Regions from separate parts of the Homo sapiens genome. Here region 2 is linked to region 1. Evidence: promoter capture Hi-C in 16 types of primary human blood cells and fetal thymus (Javierre and others, 2016). All regions are on one chromosome and are shown on one strand. Each heading gives the region's core, a stretch centred on a gene start or on the middle of the fragment in contact. The rest is flanking DNA. Distances are from core to core; before and after follow the strand shown. Region 1 holds the start of BARX2 (BARX homeobox 2). Region 2 has its middle 97 kb from the start of TMEM45B.

Region 1 (6,340 bases), core at 2,663-5,162:
CAGTATCTTCATGTGAAAACCCTTAGGGTAATTGTAACAATCCTTATTTTTGTGAAGCAAGTTATCCATTTTTTCTCAACACGCCTCAAATTTAGAAACTGCCTGATTCTAAAGATCAGACAGAAAGGCAGAGGCTTCAAAAATGACCACGCCGATGCTTCCACAAACTATTCTACCCCAAGAAACCAGCTTTCTTCAAGTGGGCTTTTCCACCAAGAAACATTAATCACAACCGGAAAAAGAAAATAAAGCATCCTAAATGAAGTGTATTTATGATATCCTAAAATGCACCTCTCTTTTGGCCTTTGTAATGACGGTCAATGCTCTGAAGTTGGAGAGCTCATCGCTGATTTCTAAATGGCATTACACTGCCTTCTGAGTAGGGATTACTGTTTACAGATTTAAGAATAAAACCAACTTTTTATATACTAACTTAATTCTAAGCATATTCCACCCCTCACCAATGGCCTGAATGACACAACTCTTTTCAAATGGAGGCATTCTTTTGGGCTTAGCTGTTTAAATTTTAGTTTAAATGTGATGATAAACCGTTCTGTGGTGAGGCTTACAGGGAAAGGATTCCCTTTTGCAGTGTCTATTAGGATGATTTACGAGACGTACTAGGAAACCGAGAGAAATTTAGAGACATCTTTCCAAGACTAAAATTATTGTGTTTATAATAAGAAAGCGTCTGTTAAACAACAATTTTTGGAAGGTGAGGATTCCATCAAGGCTAGAATGTCGAACAATAAATTCCTGTCAGGTGATTATCTGCCTGAGATGAAAACTATTCCCATTTCTCAGTTTGCTTGAATACATGCTATTCTGCCTGATATTTGGTACCATAAATTGACCTTTAGGTTACTAAATCCACAGAGCATGAACTGTTTCATTATGCAGTGTTTTTTTTTTTTTTAATGCTGTAGTTTTCTTTCCATCCCAATTTTATGCACTTATTGTACATGCTGGTAACTTTTTAATTTTGAGGCCTTTTTTTTCTCTTAGTTTTCATTATTTTACCTGACACAGTTCACTTCTGTTACACGTCTTTAAATCTTAAATCAGCAAATGAAAGGCTGAGAAAGTTCAGTAACTTTAATTCCAATGTATGCCTTTCACTTGAACTTTTTATGCATTGCTTCCACCACCAGTGCTCAACATTTAGTTCCATCTAGCAAAAAAAAAAAAAAAAAAAAGAAAAAGAAAAGAAAAGAAGAAAATTACAGTGTCCTTTGGGATGCCAGCAACTTATTGTTGTTGTTTTTAATTAATAAGAAAAAAGATTACATTCATCTAATCAAAGATTTTTGTCCTGACCTTAACTGTTAAAAACAAAAATGCTTTGAAAGTATGGTATTTGCAAAACCCCTGAGAAGACACTAATGGGATTCCCATGATCTAATACATGTAAGGCTTTAACTGTAACTGTAAACCCACTGAAGGCTTATGATCTGAAAGTATGAACTATTGTAGCCAGTTTTTATGGGTTTAATTCCACCAGCAAATCCCAGTTTCTATATTTTAATTCTCAACTAGAGCAAAATAACGACACATTTTCAACTAACAATCCGAAAGAAGAAAGTACTGGAATAACGGAGCCAGAAAACCATTGCCAACAGCCACCCTCTACCACGAACCATCAGTGAACTTCGAAAAGCACAAGACTGAGCAACACTTAAGTCTGTGAAATACGTGCATTTCACTTATAACACTCACAAAACTACATATGAATCATTTTTTTTTCCTCTGATTTATTTCCCACACAAGGTTCAATAAAACACGACACTTACTCAGCCACCTCTGACTGAATGACTATTCTCTGCAGCTATTTATTACTCCTCTTCTGCCACGTTTTCTTCTATGATCCAATTCTGTGACTCCTATAAGCCAGGAAAAGCTGCCTTCAAGTCAACACAGCACAAAGTCACTGAAAATTCTGCCGGCACTAGGCTCTACCTAGGTGCTTAGAAGTTGTTCTGTTTTGTCCTGGGAATGTCCCATACGCAATGTTAATGACTGAAACAGATCCTCTCTTTTTCCTCGAAGGGAATTGAGTTATTATAACAAAGGATGATTTGTGCTCAAAACAATATTCAACTTATCACCCCTATTCAGTATGTATGTGTCCAAGGGTCCACAACCACCTATACACAAATGTAAAAATATCAGTTCTCAGGAGATCTATCTTGTTTCTAAAATTTCTTATTTGTTCCTTGTTTCATATATTTCTTGGTTTTAAAAATTCAGTATTACAAGGCTTGTTATGGGACATCAGGCCTAATTCTACCTTACAGACAAATTAACTTTAAAAAGGCATAACTGAATACAGTATACATTTTACAACCAAATACATGTAGGAACAATTTGGTTTTAAAAGAACTTCACTGTATGTATTTATCATATGTTTACTGATTGTCATATAGGGACTATCAATGGAACCAAGAGAAAATACAGGATTCCACGCATTGAGCATTAACAACTCAAATGTTCCAAAAAATATCTTCCAAAACTGTTGGCCCTTCATTTTTTCATTTTAAGTGTAATTTAATTTATCTCATGCCTCTCATGCAACTAACAATCTCAAAGGTTCTTTTGGTTTGGAAATACTTTATGCTTACCTTTAATGGAAAGCACACTCAATAACTTTTTTCTGATAAAAAGTGCTCCTACTTCTTTTTCGTTTTATTATACCCATGTTCCATAACCTAAATCCTAACAATGCCGAGATACTTTGAAACTTGGATCTTCTCTTAATGCATTCAAAATTTTAAAAGTACCTTGGATTTATTTTCGATAGAAACTCTACTACGTTTTCAATATATGTATTAAGTTCTCTTTATCTTTACTATTGCTCTTACCTCCCGTGAAGAGAGAAAACCAGGTGTGAGTAATGTTTTCATTGTTACCATTGCTGGTTTTGGTCACTTAAGACAAACGAGGGTGACCTTTTCGGCTTGACTTAAGACAAACGAGGGTGACCTTTTCGGCTTGTGCCACAAAGACAATGTACTTCAGAACTACTTTCTCAGAGGGCGATCATTGTAAGCAAAGCTCAGTGAATTCGAGATTTTGTTGAGAACCTCAGGATACTGATTTACTTGCAAAATTCACAGTGGAGACAGTAGGAGGCTGGACAAGTTAACTCAAGGTGAGATGCAAGGCCGCCAAGCTCAAGTTTGAAATTCACACACACCACCACTTCCTGAAACAACGATTTAGACGCTGAACCTGCTCAAGTGTTTGAACTTTCAGCAGGAAACGAGGAAGCGTTCTCCTCCGAGCAGGACAATCAGGCGTTGCGCGAGCAGCCCACTCCTAAGGCCCTGCCGCCTTTATTTCCACTCGTGCCATCCACACCTTGCGTGGTCCTTCCCGGCCACGTCGCAGATGCCTTTGCAATGCCCACCGCTTGCTGAGGCGCAGGAAAAGAATCCCTTAACTTAACCCTTCCTCTCGCCCTCGGATCGCAAAGCACAGGCCACCTACACGGACGTGAAAGCTACCGAACCCCACTTATCCCCTAGCGGAGCGTCTTACCCGTACAGGAATGCAGGGGCTTGGGTCGCACGACCAGCGACGGGCACACGGAGTAGAGGGAAAGTTTCTCAAAGTAATCGCAGGTCTCCTTGGAGAGGATCTCGTCGATCATGAAAGTCTTGTAGCGCCGCCTGGCTGCTTTGAGCTGGCCGGGCGAGCTCAGCCTCAGCTCGGCGTGGCAGTGCATGGTGAGCCGGCGCGAGCGTCCGCCGGCCCGAGCGCGGCTGCGAGTGCCCGGCCCGCTGGGGCCGCGGGGCTGGCGCGACGGCGGGGCCTGGGCCCCGCTCCCGGCAGCTGGGGAGGCGGCGGGGCTCGGGTGGCGCGCGGAGGAGAGCGGGTAGCGGGCGCGCCTGCCGCGCGTCTAGACCCACCCGCAGATCAGCATCTTCGCTGAGCCTTTTTGGGACAACGCAGCTGTCAATCAGCGCGAGCTTCCTGCAGGGCCGGGTGCGGAGTGTGTGCTGAGGGGCGTCCGCGCCCACCCCGCCCCCGCCCGCCCGTGCCACTCCGGCGCCGACCTGCGCGCCTAGTGCCCGGCGGCTCTCAGTCGCTGCCTCCCGCTCTGGTGTCTCGCGCTCCTCTGCCTGGCTCTCTATTTTAAGACGCTCGTTTTGGCTCTCCTCCCCCTCCCCCCCGGGACGCGCTCCAGGTGTGTGTGCAGGAGTGTGCGCGCGGTGCGGGGAGCGCGCACCGCCCCAGCCCGCGGCCAAGGCCCAGGCCGGTAGCTCCCCGGGGCAGTGTTCCCCATGAGCACCTTACTGCCTGTCCTGCCACCCGCCGGCCCGGCTCCCAGTGTCCGCAGCCCAGCGGGAGGGCACGTTCAGGTCTCTTACTAGAAAGAAGTCTAGTCCTCACTAGGCTCCCGGGACTTCGGGCCACAGAGCCAGTGCCCCCGAGGACCCACCGTGCCTTTCTCCTTCCCCGCGTGGACGGTTTCCCGAAGACCGCGGCTTCCCAAGCCCTCCACTCGCAGTCTCGCAGCCCGCGCTGAGCCTGCGCGCTCCGAGCGTAAGACTTTTGAGCTGAAGTTGCAAACTTGACTGCCCCAAGATCCCAAATCATAAATGACCCTGGCCCCGTCCGTTACCCTCATAAAAAACTGAGAAAAAAAAAAAGATAAGAAAAGAAAAACTAATAAAAGTGTGAGTTATCGCCGGGCGCGGTGGCTCAAGCCTGTAATCCCAACATTTGGGAGGCCGACGTGAGACGATAGCTTGAGGTCAGAGGTTCGAGACCAGCCTGGTCAATATAGGGAGACCCTGTCTTTACAAAAGAAAAATTAAAAACAGGCATGGTGGTGCACGCCTGTAGTCCCAGCTACTGGAGAGGTTGAGGCAAGAGGAAACCTGTAGTCCCAGCTATTGGAGAGGTTTAGGCAGGAGGAAATCTTGAGCCCAGGAGTTCGCGGCTGCAGTGAGCCGGGATCTCGTCACTGCACTCCAGCCTGGGCGACAAGAGCGAGATTCTGACTTTTTAAAAAAGTGTGCGGTTTTTTTTAAAACATTGTTTATAAAAACATTTTTTCCTCGTTGGAAAGGGTCAGAGCTGCACGATTCTAGGGAGCCGGCGGGCACTGGGGCAGCCTGTCCCATGCGGGCTTCTCCCAGCGCCCGAGTCTTCCGGCAAAGGGGCTTTCAATATCCGGATCCCTCGCGATACGACCGGGTTAGAGAGTCGCGAAGACAGGCGTTTATTGGGTGATTTGCCTTTTTCTTTCCAGGCTCTTAGTCTTAGGGTCTGTTCCAATCAAAATCTGTACGGACTTTAGTTGTTCATTGGAATTGCTGCGTAAAGGGGACCCCGCCGAGCCTCCGCGCCCGGGAAGCCTCCGGCAGCCTGAGTCGCGCCCGGTGTTCGGCGGGAACAGCCCAGTGCACGCCCGTTTCCACGACTTTATGTTGGAATGAGTGTGCATGGGGTTGGAAGGAAAACGCACGACAGGGACACTGAGAAGTATAGACGCGGATGGCCTTCCCTAGGGCCGAGTTTGGGGCCGGTGACATTTCCTCCCCGCTCCCAGCCTAGAAGCGTCCGCGAGTGCCGGCGGGCTCTCTGCGGAGCTGCTTGCCCAGGGGGCCCTGGTGGCCGCGGAAGCAAGTAAATGAGGGCGCCTGGGCCGGTGATTAAACTAGGAGGGAGGGACACGCCCAGAGGACTAATCATTAGGCTGTTAGAGAAAATAGATTTTTTCTTTTTTTTTTGAGACCGAGCCTCACTCTGTCGCCCAGGCTGGAGTGCAGTGGCGTGATCTCGCCTCATTGCAACCTCTGCCCCCCAGGTTCAAGCGATTCTCCTGCCTCAGTCTCCCGAGAAGCTGGGATTACAGGCGCCTGTCACCGCGCCCGGCTAACTTTTGTATTTTTTAGTAGAGACCAGGTTTCACCATCTTGGCCAGGCTGGTCTTGAACTCCTGACCTCGTGATTCACCCGCTTCGCCTCCCAAAGTGCTGGGATTACAGGCGTGAGAAAATAGATGTTAAGAGGCCAAGTCACAGCCTAGCATTAGACAAGGCCCGCAACGCGTCTTTGAGGAACTTCATTCCCGAAGTATTTGCAAACTGGCCTCCCCTCCCCTCCTCTCCATCTAGAATTGTTTTCTTTCATTCTCTTTCTCCATGCAGAGGCGGCTGCAGGGCAGGCGAGAACTGCTGCCAGGTGTCCGGGTGGCGCCGGGGGTCCTGCCGCCGGACTCTGGGGTCTACAGGCTGGCCCCAGGCGCGCCCCCTGCTTCCGCGGCGGGACCCTGAGGCTGGTCCGCGGTCAAAGCGCGGGACCCGGGACAGCTCACCGCTCAGCCCTGGCA
Region 2 (6,340 bases), core at 2,842-5,341, 340 kb before region 1:
TGAGTAGCTGGAATTACAGGCATGCACCACCATGCCCGGCTAATTTTTTGTGTTTTTAGTAGAGACTGGGTTTCACCCTGTTGGCCAGGCTGGTCTCGAACTCCTGGCCTCAGGTGATCCACCTGCCTCGGCCTCCCAAAGTACTGGGATTACAGGCGTGAGCCACTGTGCCCAGTCGACAGCAGTTTTACATCGAATAGGCACTCACAGGTTCTCTGCTTCTGTCCTGTTATGAACGTCCCCTTTGGTCTGGCCCTGCACTGCATCTCTACATCCTCACTCGGACTCGACTCCACGCCTTTCTGCTCTGCTGTCCCTTTTCTGTCTCTCGCTCTCTCTCTGTTGCACACATAGGCCAGGGCTTAGCTATGACGCTTGTGCTCAGGAACCAGTGGGGTAGTGTGGGGAGGGAGAAAAGCCAGACAGCGCAACTCTCCCTGTCACCCTCCCATCCAGAATTCCACGCTCAGCTGCCTGTCTCCTGCTGATCTTGAGAAAGACCCTCTGGAAGGCTGTGCTCCTTTGGTGGTCAGAGAACAAGGCTTTCCCCCTACAGCTGAAGAATCTGAGCGGAGGGGGAAGGGTGGTGTAGAAGAAGAGTTTTCTGCCCTCGTGTCAGGGAGAGGGTGGCTTCCTGATGTCTTCCAGGGAGCAGGTGTTCGTCCAGGCAGTCCCCAGGGGATCCTCAACAGTGGAAACAAAGGGGCAGGTGGGAGAAGGAAAGGCGTGGGCTTTGGAGTCAGATCGGCTCTAAACTCGGACTCCACCCTTTCTTGGGTGTTCACTGTTGGTCACGTAATATCTCTGAGCCTCAGTATCTCCCTCTATAGAATTTCAGCTCTCAGGGTGGCTGTGAGGATCGGATGAGATGGCTTCTGAAGTACCCTATAAATGAAGTGCATTCATATTTGTCATTCTAACTGTGACAAAGTGGAGACGAGTTAATGTACCAGTATTTCCCTTAGAGAAAGCTGATTTGTTGGGGAAATACTTTGCTCTGTGCTTCGGAACATAAGCGGAAAGTTTAGGAGGGCCTGGACGTGGGCGGAATTGCCCGACATGGCAAGGGGAGGGGCTTGTGCTCAGTTCTGCGGGTTTCGGGGAGAGGAAAAATGAGAGGGGAAGGGTGTGAGGTGCGTGAAGTGACCACAGCCCCTGGCCACCTCCCCATATTCAGTTTCTCTGAATTTACAAGGTGCTTGCATGTGAGTTTTTCATAGTAATCGGGGGTTGGGGTGACATTTGGATCAGTGTGGGGCAGCATGGAGGTAGATGCACAAATGAACTACCGGGAGGTGGGAGAGTCATAAGTGGGTAAGCAGCAGAATTCACAGATGTTGTAAGGAGGACTTTGGATGCTCATGGGGCAAGAAATTGGGGCTCAGTCCAAGTGAGGACGTAGAGATGCAGTGCAGGGCCAGACCAAAGGGGACATTCATAACAGGACGGAAGCAGAGATCAGATCAGGTTTATCTGGGCGTTTGTGGACTAGGAAGTTACAATGGACATCTTGTAACTTTCTAGGCTATCATCGCCATTGTCGTCATCATCTTCTTCCTCATCCCTGTTTAATGGGGAGAGAGAAACAGGTTCAAGTGCAGTGCTTTGCTCAGTCAAGGTCACATGGCACCAATGGTGACAAGACTGGTTTTAAATTCCCCGTTGCCTGTCTCCAGCCTATGGCTGTTCCCTCTGAGCCAGACCACCTGTCCATCATAAAGGACATGCAGTCTCAGGTAACAAGTGAGGAAACTAATCTCTTAGGAGTTGCACAATCTGCCCAAGTCTAGACCTGGGCTTAATGCAGGGTGCTGAGGACAGGCAGGGGATGCCTGCAGGAGGAGGCCGCTGGCTGGGCCTGCAGGGCTGAGGGGAGCTGTTTTCCTTTTGGGCAAATTGCTTCACGTATGGGGATGATCACCCCTCCTAATCCTGTCTGCTAACTGTACTAAGGCTTCCTCTCTGCCAGGGGATTGAGGGCTGAGGTGACAGGACTGGGCACAGGACCCGGGAGTGCTCCCTGCACCCCCTGCTTTGATGCCCTGGCTGCACCTGCTTTATTCTTGTGGAGCCCGGTTTCATTTGGTCACCCTTCAAAGCACAGTCTCACACAAAAAGGCCAAATTTAGCTTTAATCAAATAACTACTGAACATGAAATCTTCGAAGGATCATTACCAACTCTGATTTATTGATGACTAGGAAGGAAGGTCTAGGAAGAGAGTGATCGGTTACATCATTGAACGCTCATGGAGGGTTTAAAAGCTAATCCTGTGTGTGTACATCTTTTTTTTTTATTTCAGAAAGCTTAATACCTGTGTCAGATGTCCTCTTGGAAGCCATGGAAACCCTGTTGGCTATGCAGACAAAGAGGCTGGCCCCAGGAAGGTTGTAGGACAGCAGGGCTGGGATCTTTCCATACCTTCTAGATCAGTATTTCTCTATCTCAGTTACACTGTCAAATGGTCACCAGCTCAATTCTTCACCTAAGACAAGAGAAATGAGGAAAGGTGAGGAAGAAAAGGGAACTAGGAGATTCCCCCAAACAGCTCTCTTTAAAAGGAGGTGAACGACAGAGGCGGAAAGGATAGGGTGGCAGGGTCTTTCTGACGTACTGTTTCAGAGCTTGGGAGATCTATTGTAGCACCAGTACATTGATAGGGGTGGCTCAGTGATTGCCAAATACCCACCTGCCACTGTTGGCATCCTTGTCATTAAGACAGAAATTAGCCCAGTTCAACCTGGGTTCTGTGTGGGAAGCTGCTTACATGGTTTCCCTACTCTGGGTCTGAGGACATCCACCCTTCATCAAGTACTGGTCATCCTGTCTAAAGATACCTAGAAAAGTTCTTCAATTCACTACATTAAGAAGATTCCAGGAGGGTTTGTGGAGAATGACAGCCCACTCTCTGTGCTGAGCATTTGCGTAGGCAGTGGTGAGCTGGGGCGGCTCACACCCACTCATGAGAGCCAACTGGGAACATCTCTGCCGAACTCTGCATCAGTGACCTCACTGTGGTTGCTTGAAATTGGCCATGGTGGGAGTTTTAAAAATTTATGTATATTTTTCCAGCTTTATTGAGGTATAATTGACAATACATATATATGTATGTAATATATACATATATAATTGACATCTACATATATAATTGACATATATATACAAATAAAAATTGTATATATTTAAGGTGTGTAATGTAATGATTTGATATAAGTATACATTGTAAAATGATTACCACAATCAAGCTAATTAACCCATCCATCACCATTATAGCAACTATTTTTCTTTGTAATGGAAATACAATACTTAAGATCTACTCTTTTAGTGAATTTCAAGTATACAATACATTATTATTGACTATAGGATAGTCACCATGCTGTCAGGATGGTGACTCCGGAACTTATTCATTTTTTAACTGCAAGTGTGTACACTTTGACCAACATCTTCCCAGTTTCCCCAAGCCCCAGCCCTTTCCCTGTTCTCTTGTCTGTGCCTATGAGTTTGGCTTTTTTAAAAAATTTATTATACTTTAAGTTTTAGGGTACATGTGCACAACGTGCAGGTTTGTTACATATGTATACATGTGCCATGTTGGTGTGCTGCACCCATTAACTCATCATTTAACGGTAGGTATATCTCCTAATGCTATCCCTCCCCTGTCCCCCAACCCCACAACAGGCTCTGGTGTGTGATGTTCCCCTTCCTGTGTCCATGTGTTCTCATTGTTCAATTCCCACCTATGAGTGAGAACATGCGGTGTTTGGTTTTTTGTCCTTGCGATAGTTTGCTGAGAATGATGGTTTCCAGCTTCATCCGTTTCCCTACAAAGGACATGAACTCATCCTTTTTTATGGCTGCATAGTATTCCGTGGTATATATGTGCCACATTTTCTTAATTCAGTCTATCATTGTTGGACATTTGGCTTGGTTCCAAGTCTTTGCTGTTGTGAATAGTGCCACAATAAACATACGTGTGCATGTGTCTTTATAGCAGCATGATTTATAATCCTTTGGGTATATACCCAGTAATGGGGTTGCTGGGTCAAATAGTATTTCTAGTTCTAGATCCCTGAGGAATCGCCACACTGACTTCCACAATGGTTGAACTAGTTTACAGTCCCACCAACAGTGTAAAAGTGTTCGTATTTCTCCACATCCTCTCCAGCACCTGTTGTTTCCTGACTTTTTAATGACTGTCATTCTAACTGGTGTGAGATGCTATCTCATTGTGGTTTTGATTTGCATTTCTCTGATGGCCAGTGATGATGAGCATTTTTTCATGTGTCTTTTGGCTGCATAAATGTCTTCTTTTGAGAAGTGTCTGTTCATATCCTTCGCCCACTTGTTGATGGGGTTGTTTTTTTCTTGTAAATTTGTTTGAGTTCATTGTAGATTCTGGATATTAGCCCTTTGTCAGATAAGTAGATTGCACAAATTTTCTCCCATTCTGTAGGTTGCCTGTTCACTCTGATGATAGTTTCTTTTGCTGTGCAGAAGCTCTTTAGTTTAATTAGATCCCATTTGTCAATTTTGGCTTTTGTTGCCATTGCTTTCGGTGTTTTAGACATGAAGTCCTTGCCCATGCCTATGTCCTGAATGATATTGCCTAGGTTTTCTTCTAGGGTTTTTATGGTTTTAGGTCTTACATTTAAGTCTTTAATCCTCTTGAATTAATTTTTGTATAAAGTGTAAGGAAGGAATCCAGTTTCAGCTTTCTACATATGGCTAGCCAGTTTTCCCAGGACCATTTATTAAATAGAGAATCCTTTGCCCATTTCTTGTTTTTGTCAGGTTTGTCAAAGATCAGATGGTTGTAGATATGTGGCATTATTTCTGAGGGCTCTGTTCTGTTCCATTGATCTGTATCTCTGTTTTGGTACCAGTACCATGCTGTTTTGGTTACTGTAGCCTTGTAGTATAGTTTGAAGTCAGGTAGCACGATGCCTCCAGCTTTGTTCTTTTGGCTTAGGATTGACTTGGCAATGTGGGCTCTTTTTTGGTTGCATATGAACTTTAAAGTAGTTTTTTCCAATTCTGTGAAGAAAGTCATTGGTAGCTTGATGGGGATGGCATTGAATCTATAAATCACCTTGGGCAGTATGGCCATTTTCACGATATTGATTCTTCCTACCCATGAGCATGGAATGTTCTTCCATTTGTTTGTATCCTCTTTTATTTCATTGAGCAGTGGTTTGTAGTTCTCCTTGAAGAGGTCCTTCACATCCCTTGTCAGTTGGATTCCTAGGTATTTTATTCTCTTTGAAGCAATTGTGAATGGGAGTTCACTCATGATTTGGCTGTTTGTCTGTTATTGGTGTATAAGAATGCTTGTGATTTTTGCACATTGTTTTTGTATCCTGAGACTTTGCTGAAGTTGCCTATCAGCTTAAGGAGATTTTGGGCTGAGACGATGGGGTTTTCTAGATATACAATCATGTCATCTGCAAACAGGGACAATTTGACTTCCTCTTTTCCTAATTGAATACCCTTTATTTCTTTCTCCTGCCTGATTGTCCTGGCCAGAACTTCCAACACTATGTTGAATAGGAGTGGTGAGAGAGGGCCTCCCTGTCTTGTGCCCGTTTTCAAAGGGAATGCTTCCAGTTTTTGCCCATTCAACATGATATTGGCTGTGGGTTTGTCATAGATAGCTCTTATTATTTTGAGATACGTCCCATCGATACCTAATTTATTGAGAGTTTTTAGCATGAAGGGCTGTTGAATTTTGTCAAAGGCCTTTTCTGCATCTATTGAGATAATCATATGATTTTTGCTGTTGGTTGTGTTTATATGCCGGATTACGTTTACTGATTTTCATATGTTGAACCAGCCTTGCATCTCAGGGATGAAGCCCGCTTGATCATGGGGGATAAGCTTTTTGATGTGCTGCTGGATTTGGTTTGCCAGTATTTTATTGAGGATTTTCACATCGATGTTCATCAGGGATATTGGTCTAAAATTCTCTTTTTTTGTTGTGTCTCTGCCAGGCGTTGGTATCGGGATGATGCTGGCCTCATAAAATGAGTTAGGGAGGATTCCCTCTTTTTCTGTTGATTGCAATAATTTCAGAAGGAATGGTACCAGCTCCTCCTTGTACCTCTGGTAGAATTCGGCTGTGAATCTATCTGGTCCTGGACTTTTTTGGTTGGTAAGCTATTAATTATTGCCTCAATTTCAGCTCCTGTTATTGGTCTATTCAGAGATTCAACTTCTTCCTGGTTTAGTCTTGGGAGGGTGTATGTGTCGAGGAATTTATCCATTTCTTCCAGATTTTCTAGTTTATTTGTATAGAGGTGTTTACAGTATTCTCTGATGGTAGTTAGTATTTCTGTGGGATTGGT

The links. The method cuts DNA at HindIII sites, captures the fragments that hold promoters and counts their contacts. A CHiCAGO score of 5 or more calls a contact.
Region 2: a contact is called between a fragment that was not itself captured here and the fragment with the promoter of BARX2 in region 1, in 1 of 17 cell types (endothelial precursors). The highest score is 5.7, in endothelial precursors.

What each region holds. Positions count from the first base shown.
Region 1 is chr11:129,373,420-129,379,759 of GRCh38, reverse strand. It overlaps BARX2 (BARX homeobox 2), which reads right to left and starts at 3,912. Exons shown (of 4, transcript NM_003658.5): 1 at 3,538-3,912. The coding sequence starts at 3,724. The HindIII fragment of the contact is 13,394 bases long and covers 1-6,340 here.
Region 2 is chr11:129,715,840-129,722,179 of GRCh38, reverse strand. No RefSeq gene overlaps it. Among named protein-coding and RNA genes, the nearest start is that of TMEM45B, 97 kb to the left of the region's middle. The HindIII fragment of the contact is 3,568 bases long and covers 2,308-5,875 here.